Regions from separate parts of the Homo sapiens genome. Here region 1 is linked to region 2. Evidence: promoter capture Hi-C in 16 types of primary human blood cells and fetal thymus (Javierre and others, 2016). All regions are on one chromosome and are shown on one strand. The core of a region is centred on a gene start or on the middle of the fragment in contact, and the rest is flanking DNA. Distances in the headings are between cores, read along the strand shown.

What was found. Contacts are between HindIII fragments. The CHiCAGO score rates a contact against its expected background, and 5 or more counts as called.
Region 1: a fragment that was not itself captured here is called in contact with the fragment with the promoter of SAR1B in region 2 in 1 of 17 cell types (activated CD4 T cells); the score reaches 5.4 in activated CD4 T cells.

Annotation. Positions count from the first base shown.
Region 1 is chr5:133,965,660-133,971,492 of GRCh38, reverse strand. C5orf15 (chromosome 5 open reading frame 15) reads left to right here and starts at 2,868. Exons shown (of 3, transcript NM_020199.3): 1 at 2,868-3,047. The coding sequence starts at 2,909. LOC105379183 (a long non-coding RNA gene) reads right to left here and starts at 2,804. Exons shown (of 2, transcript NR_134247.1): 1 at 2,701-2,804; 2 at 1,270-1,742. RefSeq lists enhancers at 2,725-2,944, 3,575-3,674. The HindIII fragment of the contact is 344 bases long and covers 1,584-1,927 here.
Region 2 is chr5:134,629,186-134,634,790 of GRCh38, reverse strand. SAR1B (secretion associated Ras related GTPase 1B) reads left to right here and starts at 1,963. Exons shown (of 7, transcript NM_016103.4): 1 at 1,963-2,063. RefSeq lists an enhancer at 1,512-2,068 and silencers at 2,042-2,091, 2,142-2,251. The HindIII fragment of the contact is 3,405 bases long and covers 1-3,038 here.

The sequences.
Region 1 (5,833 bases), core at 506-3,005, 660 kb after region 2:
CCAAAGCCAGAAACAGAAAAACTCCCTCATGTGAAATCCCTCTCACACTTCCAGTCTCCTCCAGGTAGAGCCCCAACTCTTTTAAGGACTCACCTGATTAGGTTAGGCCCAATGAGGGTAATCTCCCTTCAAGTTAACTGCCAGGTAAAGTAACCTAATCACTGGTAATATCCTTTCATGTTTGTAGGTCCCTCCATATGGGTCATGGGAAGGGGTGATTTTGGAATTCTCCCATATATTTATATGTTTTTAATAACTTGATGGTGGATTTTTTTTTTTTTGAGGCGGAGTTTCATTCTTGTTGCCCAGGCTGGAATGCAATGGCGCACAATGTCTGCTCACTGCAAGCTCCGCCTCCTGGGTTCAAGCAATTCTCCTGCCTCAGCCTCCCCGCCTCCTGGGTTCAAGCAATTCTCCTGCCTCAGCCTCCCGAGTAGCTAGGATTACAAACATTTGCCACCACACCCGGCTAATTTTGTATTTTTAGTAGAGATGGGGTTTCTCCATGTTGGTCAGGCTGGTCTCAAACTCCTGACCTCAGGTGATCTGCTCACCTTGGCCTCCAAAAGTGCTGGGATTACAGGCGTGAGCCACCACATCCAGCCTATTGTGGAAACACAAATAGTAATAAACTCTATGCATGATCCAGCTTCAACAAATATGAACATTTTTTTCCATTCATGATTTTTCAGCAGAATTCCTTTTTTTTCTATGTTTGAAAGTGACATTCAAAACAGGAACCATCTATTTTAGCATTTTATGCAACTGATCACCCAAAAACTGTGGGCCTCAGTATTTGTCATACTGTCTTCAGGGACTTGCAGCTATTTCTAAGTGAATGTTCATAGAATTTATCCAGAGATTATGGCACATAGTGGTTGCTGGGTACATCTAGTCAGATGTCAGGTACAGTATTAAGATATTTTACTTTTAGAGACAGTCTTACTCTGTCACCCAGACTGAAGTGCACTGTCATCATCATAGCTCACTGCAGCCTTGAACTCCTGGGCTCCTGTGATCCTCCCATCTCAGCCTCCCGAGTACTTGGGATTACAGGCATAAGCCTGGCCCTAAAATATTTAAAAATGTATAAAGGGTTCTCTTGAGTATGAGGGAATATTTCCCTCACTAGTTACTTATTGTCTGCTTGTTGCATGCAGCATGTTGGAATATCATTGTGCAAAATGCTTTGAGTTCATAATATCTCACCAGTTAAGAGAATTGAGACAATCTGGTATGAGGACACAAATGGACAAAGTGGACAATGAGTCAGGGAAGAGGACTGCAGTGTGTTTATTATAGATTAACTTTAAAGTCAACAAGCAGAAACTAAGATTGAGAAGCTCATTTGTTGAACTGAGTGGTTTTACAGAAAACTTAAGTACCGCTCAGAGAAGGGAAGCTCCTGGGGGACTGGGAGGACTTTGCACCTTGGCTAAAGTGGAGAGTTTGCAATAAGGACACCATTCAGTCTAATACGGGCTTCTGGGGGATTTCGGGAAATGTGCAGATGAATGACTTCTTAGTTTTCTTAACACAGAGTTTGTGTGTTTCTGAGCTGTCACCAGGGTGAGATAAAAGCTTAGGGGAAACCAGATTCAGGAGTAGAACACAGGCCCTTTAGAGAGACAGCTCAGCTGTGTCTCTGGGGGATAACAGCAATCTTCGCAGGGAATCATAGAGACCAGAATGGTGAAGCTGTGGGCACAATAAATGTCTTGCTTAACGTCACATTGATTTTCCTGAAATTGATCAAATGGAACTTTTATGAATTGAAGCCTGTATCTGTTTATTAAGGAGACATTTACAGAACGTACACACAGAGCAAAGTATGGCGCCAGGGCCCTAGGTGAACTTCTTGGAAGTTTGTAAGTTTGCATTTTTATACACTGGGGATTTCAAGTAACAAAATTTAAAAAGAGAAGCTTATTTTAGGAAATCTGAAAGTTATTTTCAATGGCAGCCCCTCACCTCTACTTCCTAGCTACCTTCCTTTCTTTTCCTCCATAATTTTTTTTTTTTTTTTGAGACGGAGTCTGTGGCCCAGGCTAGAGTGCAGTGGCATCTCGGCTCCCTGCAGCCTCCACCTCCCGGGTTACAGCGATTCTCCTACCTCAGCCTCCCGAGTAGCTGCGATTACAGGCACGCGCCACCACGCCTGGCTAATTTTTGTATTTTTAGTAGAGTCGGGGTTTCTCCATGTTGGCCAGGCTGGTCTCCAACTCCGGACCTCAGGTGATCTGCCCTCCTCGGCCTCCCAAAGTGCTGGGAGCCACTGCACTAGGGCCGGTCCATAATATCTTTATCATCTTGTATAGTGTGTATTTTACACCATATTCGCCCTCACAAGAAAATAAACTGCCAAGGCGGGCGGGGGGGTGGGGGGTTCTTTTTGTTCACTGCTGTATCTTAAATAGGGAGAGGTGCTAAATCTTTGTTGAAAAAAAATAAATGACTGTCGGGAAAGATTTTTAAAAATTACTTATAATCCCATCACCGAAATAGGACTACTTAACATTTGTGTTTCTTTCGCCTTTGAGAGAGGAAGAGCAGTTACTTCGCTTTCGTGATCAGTCTGTTCTACAGCTGGATCTTCCTTTTTAAAATGGCTAAAAACGCTATTTTTGGCTGTATAGTACCCAATCATGCAGGCGGCAGGGAGGGGCTCGCTTTGGCCCTCTTCAGCACGTCACACCCTACCTTTAATCCGCAGCCAACTGTGTGGCGGTCCCCACTTTCGCCTAGCGGCAACTCCCTCCTCCCTGCAATCCTTCCTTCTTATTCCGGTTTCCAGAGCACGTCTCCAGGCTTCGACGTCACCACGCTGGGACGTATGTGCCGAGGGCCGCGGCGTCTGACCTCATGGCGTAGAGCCTAGCAACAGCGCAGGCTCCCAGCCGAGTCCGTTATGGCCGCTGCCGTCCCGAAGAGGATGAGGGGGCCAGCACAAGCGAAACTGCTGCCCGGGTCGGCCATCCAAGCCCTTGTGGGGTTGGCGCGGCCGCTGGTCTTGGCGCTCCTGCTTGTGTCCGCCGCTCTATCCAGTGGTAAAGGGGGGCGGCAGTGTGGGCTTAGGAAGGCTAGGAGGGCTCGGGCGCAGGGCAGGAGACAGGCCGGGCCAGGGAAAGGGCGCTTCCAAGTGTCAGGAGCAGACGGCGGTGTCTGGTTGGGTCAGGGTCTCCGCGGGCCTGAGGACGGAGGGTATGGTGTCTGAAGGGGTCCAAGGTGGTAGGGTCTCCAAGGGGCCTGAGAAGCGGGGTCCCTGAGAGATGCAGGAACCCAGGGAGCAGGCAGCAGGGTGTGTAGATGGGCGGGGAGGGAGGAGTGGTGTTAGCGCCTAGAGATCGTTGAAGAATGGGCTGCCGCAAGGAATGGCGGTGGTGGGGTCTCCAAAATTTCTTGGATCGGAAAGTTAGGAGACTCTGGAAGAGAGGGTGGCGACAGGGGCTGAGGAGGTGGCCGGGGCTGGGGGTGTGGTGTCTGGAAAGGGTCCTGAGTTTGGGGGACTCAGGAATCTTGCAGGACCAAGGAAAGGTGGGGGTTTTCCAGAATGGGAGAGGTCAGTGGTAAAGACCGAGGCGGGCAGGGGCAGTAATCCAGTGACTGGACTGAACCAATGGAATATTTCCGAGAGGGAAAGTGAAAGGGAAAGAGCTGTCTTAGGGTACTGGTGCATATTTGAAGACTGGGAGGTTCTGGTGTTTGATAAAGATTCAGAGTACTGGGGCGTTGGGCCCCTGAAGGCTTGGGAGGCAGAGAGGAGTTTGGAGACAAGGGAGATCATGATTCCTCTTCCCTGTGTTCCGAGTTAACCAGGATAACCCTGCCTCGTTTTAATGCATCTGTAGGATTTGATTGATAAAATATTTCATTTCTTGCAAATGTTGCATGGTGAAATCAAGAGATTGAAGGCTTTTATTGAGAAATTAGGAAATCTGTAAACCAGTGCCTGATACTTGGTGGGAAAAATCCACTATTAAGAACTTGTAAGGATTAAACGGTATTTTGTTTAGTAGTCCCATTTTTCTTTCAGGCCAAGACACAGTCCTGCGTTTCTCCCTAAATTTGAATTTTCAGCTGCAAAACAGTGTGACCTGGTATAGTGTTTTCTTTCTTGCCAGCAGGGCCTGTCCAGCCCTACATTCCTCTGCGACAGTACTGTGGGTACATACTTATGTTTCCTCAGCAACATTTCAGTGTTGCTAACTGGACGCCCTCCCAGAAGTCTTTGCAGTCCCTGAGGAAGGACTGCTGTCCATTTCCTAAGGCCCTTTTATCATTAGTGAAATGTAATGAGGATTTCCCTGGTTGATGCAGATATTCCCGTTCCTAAAGTACTTAAGTAGCTTAATTGTTTTGGCCATTTAATCATCTAAGAAAAATAAAACACAAACATTTATATTTCCTGCTGGAATGCTTAAGGGATATATATCTGGCAACTGTAGTTTCAGAAACAGCTTTTTTCCCCTAAGAGATGGTTGAAAATTGGGCAAGAAGTGAGGCAGAATGTGGACTGTTAAGTGTCCTTTAGTCTCTGCTTTTATTTGTTAGAGCCCTATAAATATTTTTCTAACTATACTGAGACATTTTAGAGAATCTTTATCTTTTAAATTAAGTCTTTACATACACCAGTTTAAAATGTCATAAATTCAGATTATTCTGTCCTGAAAAGAAGCTAAATGAAAACGAACATACATGTCTTTAATAGGCGAGCAGCTCCACTGCACTACAGTGTAGCTTGGGATATAAGTATTTTTTGTAAGCATACCTTATAATTTCAAAGTAGTCACTCCTGTAATAAGAAAATTAGTCTAGAATGTGTTGAGTTCCAAATTTCAAGTGAGTTTACAAAGGTAGAAGGTTACCACATTAGATTTATTTAAATTTGTTCCATATTAGGTTTTAAAAACTGTCAATGCTTGGTTATATGCTCGTCAGTCTGTAAGAATTTTTGTTTTATGTTTTTGTTTTGATCAAGTCTAAAAAATTAACATAAGCAGTTTGGATCACTGGGTGACTAATTCTTGGTCATGCCATTTCAAAAATGCCTGGTTCTCTACATTTGCCATTATATTGTCCCCAAATGATCACCTAAACTTAATGTATAATGCATTTCATTTTTAAGGCATTGTTTCTCAAACCAGTGTGTGAATGAGTTCTCGGGGTCCTCTGCATTCTTAAGTTTAAGAAATGCTGATATAGTTTTATTTTAGGGCAGTTTTTAAAAAGGGACCAGTAGAAGGGGAGAATTAAATTTATAAAGTTTTGTTTTTTGTTTTTTTTTTGAGTCTGTCGCGAGGCTGGAGTGCAGTGGCGTGATCTCGGCTCATTGCAACCTCCGCCTCCCGGTTTCAAGTGATTCTTCTGCCTCAGCCTCCCGAGTATGCTGGGACTACAGGCGCGCACCACACCTGGCTAGTTTTTGTATTTTTAGTAGAGACGGGGTTTCACCGTGTTATCCAGGATGGTCTCAATCTCCTGACCTCGTGATCCGCCCGCCTTGGCCTCCCAAAGTGCTGGGATTACAGGCCTGAGCCACTGTGCCCAGCCTTTTTTGTTTGTTTGTTTGAGACAGGGTTTTGCTCTGTCGCCCAGGCTGGAGTGCAGTAGCACAAACTTGGCCCATTGCAACTTCCGCCTCCTGGGCTCAAGCAGTCCTCCCACTTCAGCCCCCTGAATAGCTGGGACCACAGGTGCCTGCCACCGTGCTCAGCTGATTTTTGTATTTTTGTAGAGATGGGGTTTTGCCATGTTGGCCAGGCTGGTCTTGAATTCCTGTGCTTAAGCGATCCACTTGCCCTGGCCTCCCAAAGTGCTAGGGTTACAGGCGTGA
Region 2 (5,605 bases), core at 714-3,213:
TGTAATCCTAGCACTTTGGGAGGCCAAGGCAGGTGGATTGCCTGAGCTCAGGCATTCAAGACCAGGCTGGGCAACACGGTGAAACCCCATCTCTAATAAAATACAAAAAATTAGTCGGGTGTGACCAGCCTGGGCAACACCATGAAACCCTGTCTCTACTAAAACACAAAAAATTGGCCAGGCATGGTGGACTGCGCCTGTAATCCCAGCTACTTGGGAGGTTGAGGCAGGAGAATTGCTTGAACCTGAGAGGCGGAGGTGCAGTGAGCAGAGCTCAAGCTCGCACCATTGCACTCCAGCCTGGGCGACAGAGTGAGACTCCGCCTCCAAAAAAAAAAATGCTGACTATCTGACTACACTCCTGTAATCTCAGCACTTTGGGAGGCAGAGGCCGGAGGATCGCTTAAGCCCGGGAGTTCAAGATCAGCGTGGGCAACATAATGAGACCCCTATCTCTACAAAACAATTCAAATATTAGCTGGGCCTGGTGGCACACGCCTGTGGTCCCAGCTACATGGGAGGATTCCTTGAGCCCAAGAGATTGAGGCTGCAGTGAGCTATGATAGCACCACTGGACTCCAGCCTGGGAGAAAGAGCAAGACCGTCTATATATATATATAATTTTTAAATTTATTTTTAATTTAATTAATTTATTTATTTTTTGAGACGGAGACAGAGTCTCGCTCTGTCGCCCAGGCTAGAGTGCAATGGTGCAATCTCGGCTCACTGCAACCTCCACCTCCCGGGTTCAAGCAATTCTCCTGCCTCGGCCTACCGAGTAGCTGGCGTTACAGGCACCTGCCATCATGCCTGGGTAATTTTCGTATTTTTGTAGAGATGGGGTTTCACCATGTTGGCCAGGCTGGTCTTGAACTCTAACCTCAGGTGATTCACCCACCTTGACCTCCCAAAGTGCTGAGATTACAGGTGTGAACCACCGCGCCTGGCCAAGACCGTCTATAAAACAACTGAATAACCAGCTGAATAAAAGCTGAATAACCAGCATCCAACACATTATCTGGTACGTAGCTACATTGTGTAAATCACTGGTGAATTCAATAAGCACAAATAACAAAAAAAGAAAAAAAAATGAATTCAATAAGCACGTGTACTTTGAAAATGTATTTTAGGCAGGGCGCGGTGGTGATCCCAGCACTTTGGGAGGCTGAGGCAGGTGGATCACTTATGCTAGGGAGTTTGAGACCAGCCTGGCCAACATGATGAAACCCGGTCTCTACTAAAAATACAAAAATTAGCCGGGCGCAGTGGCTCACGCCTGTAATCCTAGCACTTTGGGAGGCCGAGGCGGGCGGTTCACTTTAGGTCAAGAGTTCGAGACCAGCCTGGCCAACATGGTGAAACCCCGTCTCTACTAAAAATACAAAAATTAGCCGGGCATGGTGGTGCGCGCCTGTGCTCCCAGCTACTCAGGAGGCTGAGGTAGAAGAATCGCTTGAACCCGGGAGGCGGAGGTTACAGTGAGCTGAGATCGCGCCATTGCACTCCAGCCTGGGCGACAAAATCGAGGCTCCGTTTCAAAAAAAAAAAAAATTAGCCGGACAGTGGTGGCGGGTGCCTGTAGTCCCCGCTACTGGGGAGGCTGAGGTAGGAGAATCTCTTGAATCCAGGGGGTGGAGGCTGCAGTGAGCCGAGATCGTGCCACTGCACCCCAGCCTGGGAGACAGAGCGAGACAACGTCTCAAAAAAAAAAAATGCCAAAAGTAATTTCCCCTAGGGAGGCATGGGGTGTTCCTTTCTCGGCACGCAGGCCCCTAAAATCCCTTCGGGCGGGCGGGTGTGGGGAGACCAGGCGGCTGGGAGACCCAGGCGGTGTTAGGGGTTGCGAGCAGCCTCGCTCAACTGGGGAATTGGCGGCAAGACTGCCAGGAGGCGGAACCTAGGGCGCTCGGCGACGCGGTCCTGCGGACTGTCGCTAGTGAGGCACCCGCCGGCCCGGAAGGGGCTGATGCGAACTGGGGCCACGGCAGCCATCGCGCTTTGCAGTTCGGTCTCCTGGTGTACGGCCAACGCCAAGTAGGGGATTGCGTTCCCTCCAGTCGCAGGTGAGTGACAGCCCCTCCTTCTGGGAGGACCGGTGGGCAGCAGCTATGGATCCCCTAGAAGGCGCACTTTTAGGGCCAAGACCTACTCTGAGTCCCTGCCTGTGGCACTGCGTGAAGGGGCGCCTGTTTTTCACCCCGGGGTTAGGCGGCGCGAGGGAGGACAGGTCTCATCCATGCTCCGCGGGGCCGTCTGATAGCCCTCGAGGCAGAACACTGCTGCTGTCAGACGCTTGGTCTTTTCAGGAAAGAACGAGGTGGCTGCAGGCAAGCCCCTTCCTTCCCCTGGGCCTCAGTTTCCTTACCTGGTAAGGTGAAGGTGGCGGGTCTCACTGACAGCTGAAGAGGCTGTGACACGGCCTGGTGTTTTCAGCGCTCCCAATTAGTGTAGAGGCAAATTGAGCTTCCTTACTAGTACTGGTTAACGTTTTCCGTAGCCCAAAGTCCCAGTTAAGTGGAAAAAAGATACACTGTTGAGAAAACTGTACTGATTTTTGTTTTAATTTTTTAAATTTTTGTTGTTGTTTTGAGACAGAGTTTCCCTCTTGTCGCCCAGGCTGGAGTGAAGTGGCACGATCTCGGCTTACTGCAAGCTCCGCCTCCCGGGTTCACGCCATTCTCCTGCCTCAGCCTCCCGAGTAGCTGGGACTACAGGTGCCCGCCACCACGCACCGCTAATTTTTTTGTATTTTTTAGTAGAGATGGGGTTTCACCGTGTTAGCCAGGATGGTCTCTTATCTCCTGACCTCGTGATCCGCCTGCCTCGGCCTCCCAAAGTGCTGGGATTATAGGCGTGAGCCACCGCATCCGGTCTAACTTTTCTATTTTTAGTAGAGATGGGATTTCTCTATGTTGGCCAGTCTGGTCTCCAACTCCTGACCTCAGGTGATCTGCTCGCCTCGGCCTCCCAAAGTGCTGGGATTAAAGGCATGAGCCACCTCAGTGGGCCACTGTACTGATTTTTAAGGTGTTGAAGCTTTTCCAAGAAGATTTGTTTTAAAACAGCTAAAACTTTGACATTGTTAGCTGAAAGAACCAAATTCGTCAGCAATTTAAGGTGTTTGGTACAGTGGACAAAATGAGGTGAAGAAGTCCTTTTAACTTGAAAAATTAAACATAGTATTATTTATTTGTGTGTTCTTACATCAGCCTCTATATTACTAAGTGTCTTTGAAGACGTCCTATATTCCGTGTTAAAGTATCAGTGAAGAGTAGGTCACATTGAAACAATGAAAGAAGGAAAGAAAAGGAACATTTATTGACTACTATGAGTAAGGCACTAGCTGTCATTTTACAGATGACAAATAAATGGTGGTGCCAGTATAGCAAAGCAACATGATTATCTACTATTATACCTTTCAGTAGACTTGTGTCTGTCACCAAAATGTTTTGAACTTAAAAAATGTTAAGATAGTTCATTGGCATTTTCTGAGTTTGTAGAAAAGGAAGGTGTCTTCATTTTAGAAATGTCAGAGATGCACTGTCAGTAATTACAAAGATTAGCAGTTTAAATAAGGTATATTTTAACCTTCCTTTGACTTGCATTATTGTACTGGAATAGAAATTCAAGCAAGAATTAAGAAAAAAGATGAGTCTAACAGAAATGAAAATCAGCCTGGGCAACATAGCAAGACCCAGTCTCTACATTAAAAAAAAAAAAATTTGCTGGGTGCAGGGCCCTGGCTAGCAGGCCAGTAGTCCCAGCTACTCGCTGCTGAGATGGGGGGTTTGCTTGAAGCCAGGTCAAGACTACAGTGACCTGTGATCATGCCACTGCACTCCAGCCTGGGTGAAAGAAAAAGACATTGTTGCTAAAAAAAAAAAAAAAAAAAAAAAAAAAAGAAAAAAAAAGAAATAGAAAAGGAAATGAAAATCATTGCCACATCATTTGAAGCTTACAAGTTGGAATGCTATATTAGTATTTCTTTTCTTTTTTCTTTTTTTTTTTTTTTGAGACGGAGTCTCGCTCTATCGCCCAGGCTGGAGTGCAGTGGCTCCAGGCTGACTGCAACCTCCACCTCCAGGGTTCAAGTGATTCTCCTGCCTCAGCCTCTCAAGTAGCTAGGATTACAGGCATGCACCACCACATCCTGCTGATTTTTGTATTTTTAGTAGAGATGGGGTTTCACCATGTTGGCCAGGCTGGTCTTGAACTCCCGAACTCAAGTGATCTGTCCGGCTTGGCCTCCTAAAGTGCTTGGATTACAGGCGTGAGCCACTGTGTCCTGCTATAGGTGTATTTCTACACTTACTTTTTTTTTTTTTTTTTTTTTTGAGATAGAGTTTCGCTCTTGTTGCCCAGGCTGGAGTGCAATGGCGTGATCTCCAGCTCACTGCAACCTCTGCCTCCTGGGTTCAAGCGATTCTCCTGCCTCAGCCTCCCGAGTAGCTGGGATTACAGGCATACACCACCACACTCAGCTAATCTTGTATTTTTAGTAGAAACAAGATTTTTCCTTTTTGGTCAGGCTGGTCTCGAACTCCCAACCTCAGGTGATCCGCCCCCCTCAGCCTCCCAAAGTGCTGGGATTACAGGCGTGAGCCACCTCCCCCAGCCTTCTACACTCATTTCGTTAAGTACTCACTTGGCTGAGCATAGTATTTCTACGCTCGCTCACTTTAAATACTCATCCCAACTCGGGGTTTCACTATGTTGGCCAGGCTGGTCTCGAACTCCTGACCTCAAGTGATCTGCCTGCCTTGGCCTCCTAAAGTGCTGAGATTACAGATATGAGCCACTGTGCCCAGCCCTCACCTTGGCCACTCTTAAAAATTTTCTACTATTTATATTTGTCATGGTTTTATCCTTCGTTTTCTTTTTCTTTTTTTTCTTTTTTTTTTTTTTGAGACAGAATGTTGCCCTGTTGCCTAGGCTGGAGTGCAGTGCCACGATCTTGGCTCACTGCAACCTCCGTCTCCCGGGTTCAAGCAATTCTCATACCTCAGCTTCCTGAGTAGATGGAACTACAGGTGCCTACCACCACACCCAGCTAATTGTTTTTTTTTGTTTGTTTGTTTGTTTGTTTGTTTTTTTGAGATGGAGTCTTGCTCTGTCGCCCAGGCTGGAGTGCAGTGGCGCGATCTTGGCTCACTGCAACCTCTGCCTCCCAGGTTCAAGCGATTCTCCTGCCTCAGCCTCCTGAGTAGCTGGGATTACAGGTGCACGCCACCATGCCCAGCTAATTTTTGTATTTTTAGTAGAGAAGGTGTTTTACCATGTTAGTCAGGCTGGTCTTGAACTCCTGACCTCGTGATCTGCCCGCCTCGGCCTCCCAAAGTGCTGGGATTACAGGGGTGAGCCACCGTGCCTGGCCTATTTTTGTATTTTTTCTTTTGTAGAGACGGGGTCTTCCCATGTTGCCCAGTCTGGTCTCAAACTCCTGGGTTCAAGTGATCCCCCCACCTCGGCCTCCCAAAGTGCTGGGATTACAGGCATGAGCCACTGCACCTGGCCTATTTTTGTATTTTTTTTGTAGAGATGGGGACTTCCCATGTTTCCCAGGTTGGTCTGAAACTCCTGGGTTCAAGTGATCCCCCCACCTTGG